2 separate regions of the Homo sapiens genome follow, and region 2 is linked to region 1. The links are contacts of gene promoters, found by promoter capture Hi-C in blood cells and fetal thymus (Javierre and others, 2016). All regions are on one chromosome and are shown on one strand. Each heading gives the region's core, a stretch centred on a gene start or on the middle of the fragment in contact. The rest is flanking DNA. Distances are from core to core; before and after follow the strand shown.

Region 1 (6,924 bases), core at 2,082-4,581:
ATAGTTTGCCAATTTAAGTCAGAGCAATAAGTTGCAGTTTTCTGGGGCCCTGACAAGCAAAAGTAGGGCTCTCCCTGGTAGGTGCTTCCAGCTGCCACGCATGCACACACATGCAAACAGATGCAGGCACACACATGCATACCCATACAAGCACACACATACACACTTTCCTGCATGGAACCCCTAGGAAGTCTGTGTATGTTCACTGGTACCACAGGTTATCCTGAAAATGTTCAGAACACTTTCTATCTCTGTAACACTACTTTTAAAAATGAATTTCTGGGGTCAAGATCATTAAAAGGAAAACATCATTAAGCTCTTTGAAATTCCACTGGGCTTTAAAGATTTAAGAATCCAGGGATGTATAATATAAATTTTGCCAAACTTTAAAATAAACTAAAAAATTCACAACAGTTGAATTCCTCCCAAGGCCCCTTTAACAACACTTATAGATTGCTGAGATACGGGTATGATGAACAGCTATGGGTATGACAGCTCTGCATGAACCACACACAACAAAACACCTCTGTGTTCTACAGCCCTTGGCACAAGACATTCCCGGTGGCCTTTCCCCTAATGCGGTGATTTCCAAATGCCCGTCTGTGGACCAGGGCCACTTACTGATATAGTCTTCAACTTTCAATAGCTAAATGAGAAGGATTGGGCTTTATCCTTTATTTTGAGGCTTTTATCCTTGCTTTTCTTGCCTTTCCCTTTTGGTATTAAAACATTCATATCTTATAGAAAGCAAAGGTAATAATAGATGGTAGAAACATATTGTTTTGTTTAGATGACCTTTCTTTGTAAAATTAAAAGATGGAAACTCTGTATTGGGTTTAAAACCAATTTTAACTCTCCATGAAATTTAAAGTCTGGAAAACATTTCTGTAAGGCTGGGCCAAATCCCAAACCTGGGGGAAAAATAGCTTCAGGAGTGAATGCCTACAACCACTGAAATTCTTAAGAGAATTTAGCTTTTTAGCTTTTTTTTTTTTTTTTTCCAGAATTTCTTTTCCGGAAAGTATAGAGAATGAGGATGGTAGAGGACTCATCACTATAGTTTCCTCTCTTTCCCCAACATCCACAGACGTATCAATGGTCTGAATGTAATGTCCTCTTAAAATATGAAGCAGAAAATGGGTTAGGTTAAAAAAAAAAAAGTGCTACCCCAAGCATCATGAGAAAGCTGCTTCTGTTGTTGATCTGTTCTTGTCCCTGCTGGCTCAAAGGATCATGTGTGACACTGTGTCACAAACAGAGTCCCTAACGTGTTTACTTTTCCCTGACAAATACTATAAATTTTCTTCTTGTGGTGAATGAACATTGTTTATGCAGCTGTGTTCCTTAAATCAATACTGACTTTCTGTCCCACTGTATCTTTTTTGCAAAGACACTTAAGGAGAACTTTCTCCTGGCATTTGGGGAGAACTTTTCAAGTCAGACCTCCTAATTAGGAACAATCATTGTGCACTGGATCCACCAAAAAGAAAAAAGTGTTTTTGGCCTGGTTAAGTGTTTCCATCTTGGGTTACAGCCTTCATCTAAAGCAGCTTCTCCCTTGGCCTGAATGGGCTTTTCCGTGGAGACAGAAGGTAAGATTGCATGCTGGCTGACCCAACAGAGATCCAGAACAAACTCTCAGGAAATCTCAACCCCTCAGGCAGTTGAATTCTCACTCCTCTGAGACCAGCTGAGGTTATTTTACTTCATTTAACTAGCCAGATGATAGGTTGACTGATGGGGCCATTATGTCCGGCGTCAAGTAATTTTAGAATGAAAATTATGCAATAGGTTAGACCACAGCTCAATTTTTATCACCCCAATTGCATACAACGTCCCTAATGTGATTGCCTTTGGGCTAAGATGGAAAGAAATGTTCAGTCCCAAAGTGGCTATATTTTCTGGAATAGATTGAGTGAAACGTCTCTTTTTTTCAACCAAAACACATGGAAATAAATTTCTTCGGTTTTACTTTCTAAATATCTGGTACAAGGTAAAAACTGCAGTGATTAATATGTCCTATGGGGCTGCCGGTTGGTGAGGAAAGGTTGTCAAACTTTAGATAACTCCACCAAGTTGCTATTATCATTTTTAGGCCTGGGTCAGTCAAGTAGGTAGACAAGCTTCTTGACATGTGGAATTGACTGGGACACTGGTAATTGATCCTATTTAAGAAAATGTCCTCAACGCAATGATTTTGCTTAAGTACCTTCTTATTTTAAATGTACCCCAGGACACCATAGTTGTTTCTCTCTGTGGCTTTTTAATTTCCCTTTTTGTTCCAACTGACCTTTCTAAGTTTTTTTTTTTCCTTCTGAAATAAAGAATTCTAAACTCATGATTTTACAGAAAAGCTCAGTTTGCAAGAATATCAGCAATTTCTTATTTAAATATCTTCTACTATACCCAATTGCTAGAGCATAACTCTTGGCTCCTAAACCCAATTTATAAATCAGTCATCCTTTCCACCCCTACTCACCCCAAATTTGTTCTTCTTCCTGGTGTTGCTGTCTTATTTCTTGGCACCCTCATCTACTCAACAGCAGCAGAAGAAAAGAAGAAACTTCATAGTTGGAGGATCTTCCTTCTATCTATTTATTCATCCATTCACTCAACACATATCTGTGTCAGATACTGCTCCAGGTACTAGAGACAAGCATGTACAGGACAGATATGGAACTCTGTTCTCACAGTGATTATACAGCGATTATATTCAAGTACATTTCTTCTAGAAACACTTGGTACTTCTTGCAGGGACCCCCAACCTCATATAAGTATATATACTTAAATATGTCTAACAGATCTTGATATATTACATATTTAAGTAAATAATGATAGAAAATGAATATTCTTACATGGATGCCCCAATTTCTTTCAGCTGCCTCAGATACTCACTGGATAGTGATAGCCAATGATATGCCAGACTTGATATTGATTGATAATGTTATGGCCCCACCAGGGAAGGTTAGAAGAATGGAAGCTGCTTATTTCAAATTTGAATGAGCAATCAAACATTCCTGTTCTGATTAATGTTTTTTTGCCTTGATGCACATATAAGAACTGGGACTAGCAGAAAGGGTTTAGCTTAGGACTGTGGAGAAATGCTTTTCTTCATTTCTGATAAAGCTCCATTTGCTGTTTGATCCTGTCTTCTTGATCTCCCAAGTTCCTGATAAGTCTACAAAGCTAAAACACTCACAGTTTGATCATTAGTAGTGTAGATCTTCCTCTCATTCAATGGAAGTCTTCTCTTGGAGGTCAGCAGTAAATGTCTCATTGCCGTGACCCACTGGTCAGTCCTTATGCCTCTTCATCTTTGCACATGCTGATCCCTTTCTCAGAAAGAAAGTCCCTTTAGCCAGGCATCATCTCCTTTGAGAAGCTTTCGCTGACCTCAGACTGGAGAACTCTATTATAGCATTTGACACTCCCCACAAAGGGGAGAACAGTAAGTTGCAGTCTGATGAAGTCATATGATGCCCGGGCTGGCTTATGAGTAAAGAGGTGAGAAGGTCTCCTACTGAAACAGATTTTCCCTCTTTCTTCCCCTTACAATAGCCTTTCAAAGTTCTTGAAATGTCCATTAAGGAATTCCTATACTTTACTTTTGATTTCACAATTTCTCAGTCAAAAGCTCAATATCATTGCATAGGATAATACATTACCTTAAAAAAAAAAACACCAAAAAAACCTCAACACTCAAAGATTAAATTTGTGTTTGGAAAAGGCTTTATAGGCAGTGGTACCTGGAAACTGGTGCTTGAGAGAAGCAGGAGGAGGGAGGGGAGATGTCAAATACCATCTTTTAAAAAATTTGTTTGTTTTTGATGACCATCTTTAAGAGATTTTTAAATGCCATGTATGAATTCAAGAAAGAGAATAAAGCAGGATTCTAAGAAATAATAGAAAGCTTCTTAAGGAAGCCGGTATAGTATCATTTTATATCTCTGATATTTCTGCTCATCTACTAAAGCTCATTAAAACCTATTAATGATTAGGAAATACTTATGTTTTATGAAATGTATAAAAAAATTTAAAGATAACAATCTAAACTCTCTTTAAAAATTAATTTTTATATATATCTTAACACCATTTAACACACTTAATTTTAGTACTTCTTTACTAAAGTTTGCGGAGGCAGACTACTCTTAAAAGTAGGAAAAAAAAAGGCAGAGGAGCAGACCGACTTTTTTTTTTTTTTTTTTTTTTGAGAGGGAGTCTAGCTCTGTCACCCAGGCTAGAGTGCAGTGAGTCTAGCTCTGTCACCCAGGCTGGAGTGCAATGGTGCGATCTCTGCTCATTGCAACCTCCACTTCCCAGGCTCAAGCAATTCTCCTGCCTCAGCCTCCCGAGTAGCTGGGATTACAGACTTCTGAAATTCTGAATAGTATAAATACAACTGGAATTACACTTTATTTTTAAATATACATTTCTAGGTAAAAACATAATTAAAGATCAAATAATTTTGGTTAAATTTTAAAATAAGCCCAATATGTAACTAAATAAGTCTTAGCAGAAAAATGTGAGGATAAAGTTGAGATTGCTCCTATTTTTTAATATTTATAGCATTTATTTATTTGTAATTACTTGTGAAGTTTCAAGTATTAAATATTACTCCGAGCTGTCTAATATGAGTCAGAATTTAGGGCAATAGAAAATATAAAACAAATTTTTCCTTACTAATACATGTTTTTTAAAAAGTTGTGTTTATGTTCTTCATTGAGAACTAAATAATCACTAAAAGAATTGCAGAAGTCATAAAATCATTAAATTAAGGAGAGAAAATCTCTATATATTCAGGATAAAGACATTTAGTATGCTAAGATCTCTATCCAATGGTCAAAAAACAACCAACCAAAGATGAAAATAAAAAATAATTTCTTGGAATATTATCTGAGGACTTCCAATTTTAACATGCAGAGCTAAGTGAGTATTTTCTTATTCATATCTCAGAAAAACCAACCAAAACATCAAGGGAATCAAGAAAAACAGTAATGCAAAGCTTATCCTTTGTAAAACTAGGAAACAACAGAGATTTTTAAATGAGAGAGAGAGAAGACTTAGTGGCATAGGACATAGGAAGTACCAGAGTGAAGATGCCTGTGGATTCTGAGCTTCAAGAAAGTCATAAAAGCACAATTCTAAGTGATACATACTGAAATGTAAATGGAGGTTTTTACAATAGAGGGCAGCAAACCACTTCTTATACAACCAAATAGTAAATATTTTAGAATTTCTGGGCCATATGGTCTCTGCCATAACTATCAAATTCTGCCACTGTAGTGCTGAAGCAACCATGTACAATAAACAAATGGGCATATCTATATTCCAATAAAACTTTACTTCCCAAAAAAGAAAGCTAGCCAATGGGCTATAGTTTGCTGATATTTGTTCTCTAGCAATAAGGGTGTGTCAGCTTGACTGAGTGCTTCCCTGGGCCTCAAAGTGGTGAGGTTTCTAGAAAAAGGAAAGGCGATAAAGCTGAATGAGAAGTGGTAGGAAACTGCACAAAGAAGACAGGGCATTGCTGAAAGCATAGCTAGACATGTGGAAGACGGAATTAGAAAAAAATGAGTAAAAAGAATAAATAAAAAAGATATTTAAAAGGGTTATATGATAGATGCAAAATATATAAAAAAATCAAACATATGCATAATTGGTGTTCTTGAAGAAGAAAATCAAAATAATAAAACAATAACTGTTAGGATTATTACACAAAAATTATGAATATAAAGCATTATTAAACAAAATCCAATTACACATTAAAAAACTAACACACCATGAGCAATTATATTTATTCTAGAATGCAAGGATGGTTCAATATTAGGAAATCTATTAATATATTTCTACCACACTAATAGATTAAAAATCATGTTTCTAGATGCTGAGAGACATTTGATAAACTCCAACATCCATTCTTACTAAACAAGCAAATAAACAACAAAACAAAACTGTCAATAAATGGCAATAGATACTTCCTTAACCTAGTGCAATATACTAATCTCAATCTAAAAGCTAGTGCTATAATCTATAAGGAAACTCAGAAATATTTATATTAATGTCAGGAACAAGACAAGAATGTCTACTACCACAACTATTCATAGACGTTGATCTAGACATCCTAAGCAATGCAGTTTTACAAGAGAGAAAGAAAATGTATACAAATTAGAAAAGAAAAAGACAAATAATAATTGCTTGTAGATTATAAAAGTAAAAATTTTATTATATAAAAAGTGAGCCAACTGAAAAAAAATATTAGAACAATAGTGGAATTCAGTTAGGTCTTTGGTTATAAAGTAAATATATACAATCATCATCCTTCCTATATTAAAATAAAAAAGGCATAATAGAAGAAAATACTTCATTTTTGATAGCAATATCACTAGAAAATATTTAGAATAAATTTGTCAGATGTGAAAACCTATGTAAAATCTTTAACTGGCTGGACGTGGTGGCTCCTACCTGCAATCCCAGCACTTTGAGAGGCCTAGGCTGGCGGATCACCTGAGGTCAGGAGTTCGAGACCAGCCTGACCAACATGGTGAAATCCCATCTCTAATAAAAATTTTTAAAAAATAGCTGGGTGTGGTGGTGCATGCCTGTGGTTGCAGCTACTCAGGAGGCTGAGGCAGGAGAATCACTTGAACCCAGGAGGCAGAGATTGCAGTGAGCTGAGATCATGCCACTGCACTCCACACTCCAGCCTGGGTGACAGAGTGAGACTCTGTCTCAAAAACAAAAACAACAACAACAGAAAAAAAAAAAACCCCATAAAACGAACAACATTACACTGTCTCTTGTGGACACAAAAGAACACTTGAACAGATATAAAAGTATATTATATTCTTGGTGAGGGAAACTCAGTATCAGACAGTTTTCAATTCTCTCTAAAAAAATATAAACATTTAATACAGGTCCTATAAG
Region 2 (6,924 bases), core at 1,781-4,280, 480 kb after region 1:
CAACATAAAAAGATCAAACAAGCCTACGAAATTCCTCTGTTTGAGGAAGAATTTTTTAAGAGTTATGAGGTCTCTGGGTGGGGCTTAGGTGGTTTCAAGGTTTACACAGCTCTGAATTATTTGAGGTTGTCGCATGGAGATGGGGAGCAGGGAGGCTTCCGGTGGTTTGCTGAAAGTCGTCTGCTTCAGATCAAATTATTGGCTTCAAGCTTGGCAGTGAGGAACTAATCCCAATGAGTACCAAAGCCGAAAGAAGAAACCAGGCAGGACGGGGCAAGAAAGGGATGGAGAAAGCATTATACTCTGAACTAGACTCTCCAGAGTTCCCTGGTTCTTTTTAAGCTAAAGATGAGCCCTGACGTGAATACTCACTCTACACTCCCGCTCCTCTCCCTACAGTGCTGAGCTAGCTCCCTTGGAACAACCAACAGTGCTGTTTCCTCTGCCTGAAACAGTCTTCTCTTCTCTTCACCTGCTGAACTCCAACTCATCTTTTAGGTCCTAGCCTAACAGTCTCTTCCTGTAGGAAGCTACCCGTGGTCCACCCCCAACCTGTCCCTGCACTACATTAGGTCTTCTCCTACATAGCCCGCAGCTCCTTGCCACCCACATCATAGCACTTACTTCACTTGGTTATAATTGCTTTTTTTCTCTCTGCCATCCCTGTTAGATATAACCTCCTTGAGAGCAGGGGCTATATTGATTTCAATCACCATTATATTCACAGCACCTGCTACAATGCCTAGCCCATAGTAGATATTTCATAAATCTCTATTATTTCTGTGTTTTACATGTGAAAAAAAATGTAAAAGCAGTTTTTTTAAAGGGTGTTGCAGTAACGTAGGCTAGTAGCTTTCAAACTATACCAACTTCTGGTACTGCCTCAGTGGGCAAGGGATTGCTTTCAGATCCCTTCTCCCACCTTCAGCTAGAGCAGCTCCCTTCCGTCCACCTCATGTCATAATTTTTACATATTCCTCTTACATAAAAGAGTTCTCCTTCTGGAAAAGTTAGAGAAGAACAAAACTAGGCAATAGTACTTAGGGGCATATAAGTGGGGATTTTGGAAAGGGACATTTCATTTGCATCAACAGAATTTGGTATTTGTGGAAAAGGAAGAAAAATGACCTTAGGTTTTGGGTTTAAGCCGTTTGAAATGGGTAGTGGCAAACTTTACAAAGGGTAGGATTAAGCAGAAGAAAAATATTTAAGGAAGATAACCACTTTGGTTTGAGTTAGGTTGAGTTTAAGTAACTAGAGGACAATTCCAGGAAGATAATCAGTTGAAAATACAGGTCTGGACATCATGGGGCATTATGGATATGGATGGTGGTGAAGCCATGGTGTTGGATAAGATTACTAAGGAAAAGGAGGCAGACGAAAAAGAGAAAAAAAAGTCAAAAACCAGAAAACCCTCAGGAAGACTAGCATTTCATTCATTTGCCCAATAAGTATTTATTAGATAAAGTGATAAAAAGAGAGAAAAAAGATAGTAAACAAAACAAAGAAGGAAGAGAGAAGAGTAGTAAGAGAAAAAAGTGAAGGAAGAAAATGTGCCTCAGCCTCCTGAGTAGCTGGGATTACAGGCAGGCACCACCACGCCCAGCTAATTTTTGTATTTTTAGTAGAGATGGGATTTCATCATGTTGGCCAGGCTGGTCTTTTAACTCCTGACCTCAAGCAATCCTCCTGCCTCACCCTCCCAAAGTGCTGGGATTACAGGTGTGAGCCACTGCACCTGGCCCAGCCTCTGTTATTAAGTGGTGGGCACAACAAGACAAGCCTCTGCCCTCCTGAAGCTTATACCTTCGTGAGGGAGACAGATGTTAATCAAATAATCATTCTCACTAAATAGAATATGTCAATTATGGCAAATTCTAAGAATAAGACATAAATCAAGCCATGGGAGTCTACAGGGAAAAAACTGGCAGAATAACAACTTGTCAGGGAAGGTTTTCCTACAGAAATTATGCTTAAGTAAGACAGCAAAGATGAGTGGAACTTAAGTAAAGAGGGAAGAGCTTGTGCAAGGCCCTGTGATAGGAGAAACCCCAAGATGTGTTTCAGGGATTGAAAATCCAGTATGTGTAGAGCAGAGAGAGGAGGAATGAGTGAAAATAAGAATGGAGGCTGCGCATGGCGGCTCATGCCTGTACTCCCAGCACTTTGGGAGGCTGAAGCAGGCAGATCACTTGAGAGCAGGAGTTTGAGACCAGCTGGCCAACATGGCAAAACCCTGTCTCTACTAAAAATACAAAAATTAGCTGGGCGTGGTGGTGCACGCCTGTAATCCCAGCTACTCAGGAGGCTGAGGCACGAGAATCTCTTGAACCACGGAGGTGGAGGTCACAATGAGCCGAGATAGTGCCACTGCACTCTCTCTGGCCCGGGCAACAAAGTGAGACTCTGTCTAAAAAAAAAAAAGTAAGAATGGGGAGGCAGGCAGAAGCCAGACTATGTAGGGCTTTGGAGGCCAAATGGAATAATTTTTTCTCAATATATCCTAAGAGTACTAGTGACCACTGCAGGGTTTAGTGTGTGGGAGTGGGGAGGCTGGCGGGGAGATACTATCAGATTTGCAATCTGGAAAGATGGGTCCAGTTGAAAAGATGGAAAATAAGAGGAAGCAGAATATCTGAACAAAGTTCCTAGAGACACAGGAGATCAGCCAGAATGAGAATAGGGGGTGAGGATGTATTTGAGAAGGATGCGTCTTCTTGAGAGATAGAAAGGATAGAAGTAAAAAGATGTGAGACAATGGGCACATTTGGAAGTAGAAAGAGAAAGTGTAGTTGAAAAGTTAAAAATTTGATTTATCTGCTAAAAATGAAGAAAACATAGGTAGAAGGTGGGAGTACAGTTTCTGTTATGGAGAAGGCTTCCATCAATATTTATTGGATGTTAATGAATGTAAAGGTTTGGAATAGCTGCCGTGGCAATTGAGAAAGGGATCCCTCCAGGGAGCATAAGAATTGCCCAGCAATCCAACACCCACATTGCTCATTCTACTCAGTGTGGGTCATCAATGCCCATAGGGAAAAATGCATAGGCTCCAAAATATCATAAATTTGGAAATATTGTGGACACCTGCAATAGGAAAATCTGAATCATGGCATCATACTGCTTAAAATGCTCAAAATTAGGTGGAATGTCTTCAACGCACTTGATTACCACGTCACAAGGGGAACATTGGTCATCCTGTGATTAGTCATAGGTGGTTTGAATGCTTTGGAAATGATGTTTGCTGCTGGCATTTTCTAAAGAAGCATAAATTATAACTAAATTTCTCCTGTTTATATGCATTGCCATTTCTTCCCACAGCTTTCATCAACAAATAACAATCAGAGCACTATAGCTAACAAAGTAATAGCTGCATCGCATCTTGTTTCTGACACTGTCAAGCTCTACTTACTAGACAGCCAGATGTTGTCTATGATCTCTTCTTTCCCTTAAGTCATGCAGGGCATGAGGTGAGACATGGTGGCTACTGCCTTGGAAATCCAAAGCAGTCATCACAAAATACAAGGTAATTTTGATCATTGGGATGAGCAGGGAACAATATTTTTTTTCTATTCTAGCATCTTAGAGGTAGAAAGGCATTTTACTAGTGGTCTACTTAGTCGGGAAAAAATTATACACTGGGGTATAGGAAGAAAATACTATAACTTAATCTTCTCTTTATTTTTATTTTTAGAAGGCAAGGAATTAAGCTCATTTGTGACTAATTTATTATATGACTTGACACTGACATTTTGCTCAGCCTGAACATCAGATGCCACATGTGACATACTAAGGGCAGAGTGGGGGCTGCACAGCATTGGCAGTGCCATTCTTTCTTGTTGTGTCCAATAAGGTAGGTTATGAGCAACCTCAGAAGACTCAATTTTGCTAAGATGTCTATTTTCTCCAAACTGATCTATAAAGATTTGACACAATCTCAATCAAAATTCAATTTTTCAATAGTCAAAAGTAAATTTTTCCATAAAAATTGAGAATTTAATTCTAAAATTCATATGGAAATGCAAAAGACCTCGAATACTGAAGAAACTTTGAAAAAAGAACAACACTGGAGGGCTTACATGCCTTGATTTCAAGTCTTATTATAGAACTACAGTTATCAATACAGTGTGGCACTGGCATAAGGATAGACAAATAGATCAGTGGAGCAAAATAGAGGGTCCATAAATAGGTCCACACATATACAAACAATTGATTTTTGCTAGAAGTACAAAGGTAAGTCAGGGAAGTAATAATAAGCTTTTCTATAAATTGTGCTGGAAAAATTGTATATCCACATGCAAAAATATAAACATTGATCCATACTTTAAATTGTATATAAAAACTAATTCAAAATGAAATATAGACCTAAATGTAAAACCTAAAATTATAAAACTTCTGTTAGAGAATCTCTCTGATCCCAGGATAGGTAAAGATTTCTTAGATATAACACCAAATGAACAACCCATAAAAGAAAAAAATTGATAATTTGAAACTCAATAGACTTTTGAAGAGCAGAAGCTTTTAATTTTGACAAGAGAATAAGAAGACAAGCAAAAACTAGGAGAAAATATTTATAAACTACATATCTCACAAAGAACAAATTTTAAAACTCATTAAGAAGAAAACATAAAAACAATTAAAAAAATAAAACATTCAAATAGACACCTCACCAAAGGTAGACAATTGGAAATAAGCACATGTAAAGATGTTCAACATAATTAGTCTTTGGGGAAATGCAAATGAAAACCACAATAAAGCATGAAGTCAAATCTATTAGGATGGCTAAAATTTAGAAAACTGACCACACCCAGCGATGTTAAGGAAGTGAAGCAACTGGAACTCTCATACACTGTTGGTGTGAATGTAAAATGGCACAATCACTTTAGAAAACAGTTTGACAATTTCAAAAATGTTACACATGCGCCTGCCATATGTTCCAGCCATTCCACTCATAGGTTTTTACCTAAGAGGAAAATAAATATGTTCATATACAGGCTTGTACAGAAATATTCATAGCTGCGTTTTTTTTTTTGTAACAGCAAAAAACTGGAAACAGCCCAAATGCCCATAATTAAGTGAATGGATAAAGAAATTGTGATATAATCATACAATAGAATATTACTCCACAATAAAAAGGAGTGAATTATTGATATATTCAACAGCATTGATGAGTCTCAAAGTAAGTATTCTGACTGAAAGAAAAGAGATTTTTTTAAAGATTACATGCTGTATGTTTCACTTTATATAAAATCCTAGAAAATGCAAGTTAATGTGTAGTTACAGAAAAAAAGATCAATGGTTACCTAGGAAAGAGGAATTTCAAAAGGACCCAAGAAAACTTTTAGGAGTAGTGGGTTTATTAGCTTGATTGTGGTGGTAGTTTTAATAAGAATATACATATGTTAAAACATCAAATTGTACACTATATGTATGTGCAGTTTATTGTTTGTTGGTTATGTCTCAATAAAACTGTTAAAAGAAATTATGTCATGTTCAAGAAAAAAATATTTGTAGATTCAGTAAAAGACTATCAATACTACCTTACCTACTGTAGCACTTAGGTAAAAGATAATCTATTAACTTTTCAGGATTCCAGTTGTACATGTAAAATAAAGAAAAAACTCACTTCACTCAAGAATTATAAAAATTATTAGCTAGTATTGACTAGGTCAACTGAAAATGCCAAGTGTTGTGCAAACTGCTTTATTTTTAGCTATACAATATAGTGGTTATTTCAGATTCTTGAATCTGAGCATGTAACTGTTGGCTGAATTTATCCCTAAATCCTTCCATTTGGGCAAATGACTTGATTTGCAGTATCAATTCAGTATATGTGTAGTTCAAGATTCCCAAGAGGTTGTGCTGGTGTACTGGCAAAGATTGTATTTTGGATGTAAGTGATTTCCTTATATAATCTGTAAACTAGAAACTGACAAGTATGGTAGATTTCACAAATATAAACAATGTTACTATTGGACTTCATCTGTAATCAATTTATGAAATGCACCTGAGTAGATTTTCTAAAGAGTTTAGGTACTTCAATGTCAGAAGGAAAAGCCTTTTCTCCTTGAATCTTCACATTCACTAGCTAAATGGGCTAAACAAGAAGCACATCAAAAAAAGAAAAAAAACAGCACCCTGGAGTGACACAAGACTGAATTCTAATCCCAGTTCTGGTACTCACCTGCATGAGACCTTAGGCAAGTTACTTCACCACTTCTGTTTCTTTGTAAGAAGGGAGCAAGATGCTTGCCTTCTGTGCCTCTTAACACACATCATCCAGAAAGTTTGCAAAACCACCTCATCTTCAATATTTAGTTTTAAACCTTCACTGCAATGTTGTTCCAGCGTAACACTTCAGTAAAGGAAAGGAATTATACTAGGGTCTTGCACTATGGCTTGATCTGACCCTCTAGGGCTCATGTTAAAGATAAGTATATTGATTTTAGCCCATTTATAAAGTTACTAGGCCATCATTACCAACTCTTGCAAAATGAAAAATTTATTTAATTGACTAAGGTTTATGAGACTTTAAAAAATATGGCAGCACATTGATAAATGAGTTACCCAGTCACAGCCTGACTCATTCTACAAATATTTGCTAAGTACTTACTGTGTGACAGGGAGTCCATAGTAGACAAATCTCAGCTTACTATTTATTATGGACTGAATTATTTCCCCCCTCACAGACACACACAAATTCATATACTGAAGCTCAAATCCCCAATGTGACTATATTTGGAGATGGGACCTTTAAAGAGGTAAATAAGGTTAAAGAGATCAAAACAATGGGCCCTAATACATTGGGACTGGTGTCCTTACAAAAAGAAAAGATACCAGGGATACTCAGGCACAGAGAAAAAGGCCCTGTGAAGACACAACAAGAAGGCAGCCATCTGCAAGCCAAGGACAGAAGCCTCAGAT

What was found. Contacts are between HindIII fragments. The CHiCAGO score rates a contact against its expected background, and 5 or more counts as called.
Region 2: a fragment that was not itself captured here is called in contact with the fragment with the promoter of DLEU7-AS1 in region 1 in 1 of 17 cell types (monocytes); the score reaches 6.2 in monocytes.

Annotation. Positions count from the first base shown.
Region 1 is chr13:50,804,262-50,811,185 of GRCh38, reverse strand. It overlaps DLEU7-AS1 (DLEU7 antisense RNA 1), which reads right to left and starts at 3,331. Exons shown (of 5, transcript NR_046551.1): 1 at 3,200-3,331; 2 at 2,480-2,646. It also overlaps a transcript of DLEU7 not described here. The HindIII fragment of the contact is 1,259 bases long and covers 2,126-3,384 here.
Region 2 is chr13:50,320,128-50,327,051 of GRCh38, reverse strand. All of the region lies in intron 2 of DLEU1 (deleted in lymphocytic leukemia 1), which reads right to left. Among named protein-coding and RNA genes, the nearest start is that of DLEU2, 200 kb to the right of the region's middle. The HindIII fragment of the contact is 2,458 bases long and covers 1,802-4,259 here.